Linked DNA regions of Homo sapiens: region 2 is linked to region 1. The links are contacts of gene promoters, found by promoter capture Hi-C in blood cells and fetal thymus (Javierre and others, 2016). All regions are on one chromosome and are shown on one strand. The core of a region is centred on a gene start or on the middle of the fragment in contact, and the rest is flanking DNA. Distances in the headings are between cores, read along the strand shown.

Region 1 (3,416 bases), core at 859-3,358:
TAACAAAGCTGAGTATTTAATTTTCAAGCCCACAGTTGATGGAAGGTGGAGATCAAAATGTCATTTTGCAGGTAGGTGAAGAAACTGAAGCTCAGAAAGATAATTGGGCCAGAAAGTCCAAATTTTTCTAACCTAAGAAGTTTACATACTTATACACTCCTGACAGCAGGAGCACTCCTGACAACTGACTGCCTAGAAAAGCCTTAAAAAGGAAACCAACAATTCAAATGCGCAGAATCCTACTACAAGACCCTATAGGATCTCAGAGCATCAATAATTCTGAATCATAAAGAAATAGTCAAACAATGTACAATGAACTCTTGTTTAAGACACAGAACCATGTAATTTGTTACAGAAATAATTCTGTCCCAACTCGTTAACATAAAAAAAAGGGGAGTGCTAAAACGGGTAAATTTTCAGGATATATTAAAAACAGGAGAGAAGCAGCCATTCTAAATGTATCTTTTCTGGATTTTATAGCACGATTTCAAAATTTATAAAATGTTCACCCCCCCACCCGTCATTGTTACAAAGTAGCAATTACCGGCCATCCTGTTACCAAATGGGAATACACAAAGACAAAAACGTGTGTGTGACCGACACACACACACACTCACTCTTTTTTCCTGGTTTTAACTACTGAAAGTTAATATCAGGCCCCCCTAATTTCTAAAACATCTAATTGTTCTTTGGACAACTATGTTAGTACCAAACTATAAAAGCAAATACTTTTGTATTTGTGTTCACTACTGCAAAATGTTGGTTACACACAGAAAGGGCTATCGTGGAAAGAAATTAAAATCAATGCACAAAATGGTGCTTTTATAGCATTTCCAAAACGATTGTGCATACTCCTTGCCAGCACATCTAGACTTTGCTCCTTAAGACTAAACATGAGCTGGCCGTGCGCGGTGGCTCTCGCCTGTAATCCCAGCACTTTGGGAGGCCGAGGTGGGCGGATCACGAGGTCAGGAGATCGACCATCCTGGCTAACACGGTGAAAACCCGTCTCTACTAAAAACACAAAAAATTAGCCGGGCATGGTGGCACGTGCCTGTAGTCCCAGCTACTTGGGAGGCTGAGGCAGAAGAATCACTTGAACCCAGGAGGCGGAGGTTGCAGTGAGCCAAGATCGCGCCACTGCATTCCAGCCTAGGCGACAGAGCGAGACTCCGTCTCAAAAAAAAAGACTAACCAAGAACCAAATTAGCATACTTCCCCTTCAGGCATACTGAGCCCCGAAATCATCATCTTCCTCCTAAAGAGTAATTATCTCCTCCTAAAAGGCCTGCGCAGCTCACAGCTCCTCCGAAACACGGGGGAACTTCGCGAGAGCTCAAGACCCTGGACTTGAGTTTTAGAAAAATGCTTAACAAAGTGGCCTCTGCCACTTAACTGCACGACAGCCACTGTGCTGTGAGAGGAAAAGGTCGAAAGAGGAGGAAAGCTAGTCTTCAATTTTAATCCCTGTGATTCAGGCTCTTCGCCCGTCACTCTCCAACCCTAGCCTGACAGGACGTCAGGCTGTCTCCCCCTTCCCCACCAGTCCCGCCACCTACCCCGCAACAGTGCTGAGTCTTAGGATTTTGAAGCTTTAAAAATCAACCCGGCTCCCTAGAGTTCAGGCCGCAGTCGCTGCCGCCATGTTACAGCTTGTGCGGCAAAATGCGTCAGTGAGGGAGGTGTGCGCCTGAGTGGGGAGGGCGGGGGCTGGCAGAGGAAGGACCGTCCCCAGGCCCCGGGGCTCGACTGCAAGCCTTCTCCTTCTGCAACAGCGGCAAAGGCACTGCTGCGGTCCTCAGGGACTTCCTCTGGGCCCAAGCAGCCCCGATACCTCGAGGGAAAGACGGTAAACCCAACCCGGTCAGCCGCGCCGGCTCCGCCCCTCTTCCCAGGCCCTTCCCGCTTTCGTACGCAGGGACTGCTGAAATGACGCCGCCAGAACAACTTGAGCCTCATACCACTTACCTGCACCGGTAGAGTTTTCCTCTTCTCTGGGTCCGGTCCTTTGAAGCGCTTCAAATCTACCGCCGCCAGAAAAGGCGCTAAAGCCCGCTAACCGCCTCCCTCCCCCACAACTCAGTCCTGGCATGGAGAGACAGCGTCGCACCGGAAGCGCGTCAGGAGTGGGTTGTCAGCATCGGCCAGCGTTCACCTGCTTGCGTCACCACGCCCTCCTAGGACTTCTAGGATTTTGGTGCCTTTTAAATTCCTAGTTTATAGGTGGCCTAATGCTTTGTGGATGCGTTGACTGGGAACGCTTGTAACCGTTAAAATGCCATATCCTTTGTGAAGTAAAGTGCCTCATTTAATAAACATTTATTGATCTTACGCTAGGTTATCAGAAAGGAAGGCCTACCTTCATGGAGCTTCCAGTTAAGCTTCCACTTAACGCTAGGATATAAGTTCTAAAAACGCAGTAATGAGCAAAGTGTTATTTGAGGAAAGAGGAAGAAATTACAAAGAGCTTTGATGTTCTTTGTTGTTTTACAGATAAAGAAATTGAGGCTCAGGGAAGATAAACGCCTCCTCCTCAAACACACTGTTCTTGAATGCCAAAGCAAGTCTTTTGATGCCAAATCTAGTGCCTTCTAGAGAAAATATGGCATATATTATTTAATTATTTTAAGGGGCAAGGGTCCCCGGATTATGTTAGAAATAAATAACCATTGCTGTTTGGGCGGGGGGGTGGGGGGGGATGGGCAGTGATTCTGGTAGGGATGTGGGGTGTGTTTTAAAGGAACTAGCTAACTAGAGGACTTAAATTGTTCTGTCGTTTAAAGGCAACGTAAATTATGATCATTTAAATTTTTCACTCACTTGCATCAGGTAAATTAATTATCAACAACAGTTAGGCATGTGGTGGTGCTTCTAAGGGGCGTGACCAGTTTTACACAGCAGTAAAACAGAGGACATTTCTGCCTCTCCACCCCCACCTCTTTTAAGTCATTGCCCTTTATTGCAGGAGAGCAGCAGCATATTCATCTTTAGATAGTTCAGAGATTAAACGGATTTACACTTCGCTGTGTGTGGAGGGGACAATTCTGCAATACCTTAAAACAGGGGTCCCCAACCCCTGGGCCACAGACTGGCCTGGCTAATTTTTTGTATTTTTAGTAGAGACAGGGTTTCTCCATGTAGGTCAGGCTGGTCTCAAACTCCCAACCTCAGGTGATCCGTCCTCCTTGGCCTCCCAAAGTGCCGGGATTACAGGTGTGAGCCACCACGCCCGGCCAACGCTTTTCGAAAGAAGACATACTTGCAGCCAACAATCATAATGAAAAAGCTCAACACCACCAATCATCAGAAAAATGCAAATCAAAACCGCAGTGAGATACTATCTCATACCAGTCAGAATGGCTATTATTAAAAAGTCAAAAAATAACAGGTGCTGGTGAGGTTGTGGAGAAAAAGGA
Region 2 (3,402 bases), core at 210-2,709, about 34 Mb after region 1:
TCTGATCACAGTTATGTCTACTACAGACTATAGAATCCATGATTTAAAGACATATTCTTCCAGGCATAAAAGCAGAGTGGTATTTGAAAAGACGAGCGTACTCCATCAAAATGTGATGAAGAAATCATAACAGAATGCCCTAAAAATAGCCAAATATGCCAAATTTTTAGAAATTGAGACGTGTCCAATTATTCCTGTCAGACTGGTATCCTATTACTTAGAAGATCTTGTTTCACATATTATAAATGGGTAGACTTTCAGTTTGACTTTAATCATCTTTTCATTTAAAAGTTTTTGTCATCAATGATATTTAAGCTAAAAAAGGTTTCTTACAGTTACAATTAGGTAAACTATAACCATGAAGATATATATATATATATTTAGAAAATTTTATTAGAAAAACCATTTGCTGTTCACTAATCCTAATTTGGAAAGCACCTCTTCTTCACCTTTTACTTAACTATCCCAGGACAATTACACACGGAGCATGATAGTCCCAATAATTTAAGTTTCTTTATAAAAACAAGCTCAACAGAGTCACCCTTTGCACCTAGTCACAGCAACAAAAGAAAACAAAACACCAAAAAACTTCAAAGCCCACAAAGATTTGTTGGCAGCCTAAGGCTCAGGAATCAAAACGTGTGTAAATCTGATCCCGGGGGACCGTGGCACTGACAGTCATTCAACTTTCTTTTTAATATTCCCATTGTGCTTTTTCTGGTACCACAGGGAAAATGTACCTACATTTTACCAACCGGTCGAAGCTGAAAATTCTCTTGGTGCAAGGCCAGGGGATGCGGCCGTGGGGCGGCCGGGGGAGCCCGGGGCACCGGCGCCAGCCACACGAGAGAGCAGTACCACGCTCTTGGCAGGCCTGCTGTGGCTGGCTCCCGAGTCCCTGGGGCTGCAAGAGCAGCCGCGGAGGCAGCAGCAGCAGCCATGGCAGGGACTCGGAAACCTTTCCCCTGCCTCCTCCGCTAGGCCTCGAGGGGTTTGCTTTTCACATGGCCCCCGGGTGGGGGCGGTGGGCACAAGGCAGTGGCTGCAGCTGCAGCCGGAGCCGCAGCCGCGGGCCAGGCGAGCCTGGCTCACTCGGAACCCGACCTAACGGCGGGCTGGCAGCAGCGGGACGTCAGAAGGCCCTGGCTGAAGCGCCGACGACCCGGCGGGGAAGGCCACCTTTCCACACACCACATCTCTCCCCTGCCTGCCTCCTTCTCCGTTAGCGCTACCGGTTGGCGGGCGGGGGAGGGGAGCAAGGCGCGTTATTCCCGGGGAGCTGGACGGGGGAGGGAAGGGCATCTCTTACCCGCGTTACTGAGGAGGAGGAGGCGGTTGGAGCGCGGCGCGGCGGGGCGACGGCGGGGCTGGGTGGGTGCAAGTAAGAGTCTTACGAAAGGGAATTAACCCCATCACCAGCCCGGACACCGGCTCCAGCGGCAGCCGCGGCTGGCAGAATCCCGCCCCTTCCCACCACGCACTAGCCCCGCCTCTTCGTTCTCTTTGAGCGGCAGCCGACTATTCATAGGTTGTACGTCCCCGGAGTGACATGAGTTTTGCCCAATCAAGCTTGAAAAAAACTGTCTTCTCTCCACCCCTTTACCTCCTCCCAGGCCGCGGAGAGCCGTGCCAAATCTTCCTCCAACCTCAAGAGAAAAAGAACCAATCCGTGGTAAGTAACCGCCCTTGAAGGACGCAAAAGCCAACCAATGGTAAAACTAGGAGGACAGCCATTTTGCCCACTTGTAAAAGAGCTACCTTTTCCCACGAGTTGGAGCCTGAGGTGCGGAGTTTCGTGAGTTTTTACTGACTCGAGGTATTTAAAAGACAACCAGATCTCCTCAGTGGGTATTTATAGTGCTTTTTAGGGGTAAAGGAAAATTATCCTCCATGTGGGGCGAAGTGAGGCATGCTGCTTAAGGGGTTGGCTCCTCCCCTTAGCGCTAACGGGTTCTGAAACGAACACCTGGTTTCTCCAGCTTCAGTGGCGGAGGGCGGGGTGATTGCTCTTTTCGGCCTGGAGCGGACTACGATTCCCAACATGCTTTTCCCCTACTCATAACTTCTCCTCCGTTCACTTGTCGCGGTGCTTGGCTGGAATTGTAGTTCCTGAGAGGTACCCATGCCGCCGCTTCAGCCAATGAAAAGGGACAGAGTTTTGAATGACTTGAAATTAGGGCGGAGAACGAGTTGTCGCGAGGCTGTACAGAGCCCTTTTCGCAACCCTAACGGGAGAGAAGTGATGGAAGAAGGGTAGCCGGAAGAGTTTCCTCAAAATACCATAGGGGTTTTAAATTATTAGTACGTATTTAAACTCATCTACTTTCACGTTGTCCCGTTGAACGTCACTTCCGCTTAGGGGCGGACACGTCCCAAACCTGTGGCGGGAGTTGGAGATTCTGCGGCGAATACGCCAGGTGTGACTGGCTGGAAGTGGCGTGGCTGGCAAGTCGCTAGTTTCTTGCATGGGAGATAAAAAGTTGAACGGAATTTAATGGCATTTTAAGAAAGAGTGGGTGACATGGGATGGGGGTAATTTCCAGGGCCCTTATTACTTTCTCCACCCCGGCCTTCAATCGCGGGCGTCTCGGCCTGCTCGCTATTAGATTGCACGGCTAAATTTGTAGAAAGTACCTCTACTGCCTTTAGTCTTCGCGTGGTCAGTTTGAACTGTAAAGACAGGGCTCCGAAGTTCTGAACTACATTTACAGACACACTTTTTTTTTTTTTTTTTGAGACGGAGTCTTGCTCTGTCCCCAGGCTGGAGTGCAGTGGTGGGATCTTGGCTCACTGATTCACGCCATTCTCCTGTCTCAGCCTCCGGAGTAGCTGGGATTACAGGCGCGCGCCACTCAGCCCAGCTAATTTTTTGTATTTTTAGTAGAGACGGGGTTTCACCATGTTGGCCAGGATGGTCTCGATCTCCTGACCTCGTGATCCGCCCACCTTGGCCTCCCAAAGTGCTGGGATTACAGGCGTGAGCCACCGCGCCCGGCCACAAACACACTTCTAAAGTCAGCTTGGAAGGAAAAGAGTCACAGAAAAGGGCTTTTCTGTTTGAAGGATTGATAATCAAGAGTGGCCCCATCACCACTCTTTGAGTAACGACCATTTATTAAACGAGTGGCAGACAGGCGCGGTGGCTCAGACCTGTAATCCTAGCACTTTGGGAGGCCGAGGCGGGAGGATTACTTGAGGTCAGGAGTTCGAGACCAGCCTGGGCAACATGGTGAAATCTTGTGTCTGCTAAAAACTCACACACACACATTAGCCGGACGTGGTGGCAGAGATCTGTAGGATCTGTAGTCCCAGCTACACGGGAGGCTGAGGCAGGAGAATCGCTTCAACTTCGGAAGTGGTTACAGTGACCCGAGATCGCGCCACTGCACTCCAGCCTCGGGT

What was found. The method cuts DNA at HindIII sites, captures the fragments that hold promoters and counts their contacts. A CHiCAGO score of 5 or more calls a contact.
Region 2: a contact is called between the fragment with the promoter of R3HDM1 here and the fragment with the promoter of PPIG in region 1, in 2 of 17 cell types (fetal thymus and total B cells). The highest score is 7.6, in fetal thymus.

The regions. Positions count from the first base shown.
Region 1 is chr2:169,583,043-169,586,458 of GRCh38, reverse strand. PPIG (peptidylprolyl isomerase G) reads right to left here and starts at 2,108. Exons shown (of 14, transcript NM_004792.3): 1 at 1,969-2,108. RefSeq lists an enhancer at 2,143-2,192. The HindIII fragment of the contact is 789 bases long and covers 1,595-2,383 here.
Region 2 is chr2:135,529,541-135,532,942 of GRCh38, reverse strand. R3HDM1 (R3H domain containing 1) reads right to left here and starts at 1,459. Exons shown (of 27, transcript NM_001378107.1): 1 at 1,310-1,459. It overlaps ZRANB3 (zinc finger RANBP2-type containing 3), which reads left to right and starts at 1,725. Exons shown (of 21, transcript NM_032143.4): 1 at 1,725-1,816. RefSeq lists a silencer at 1,293-1,482 and enhancers at 1,450-1,744, 1,713-1,982, 2,333-2,412. The HindIII fragment of the contact is 3,394 bases long and covers 1-1,571 here.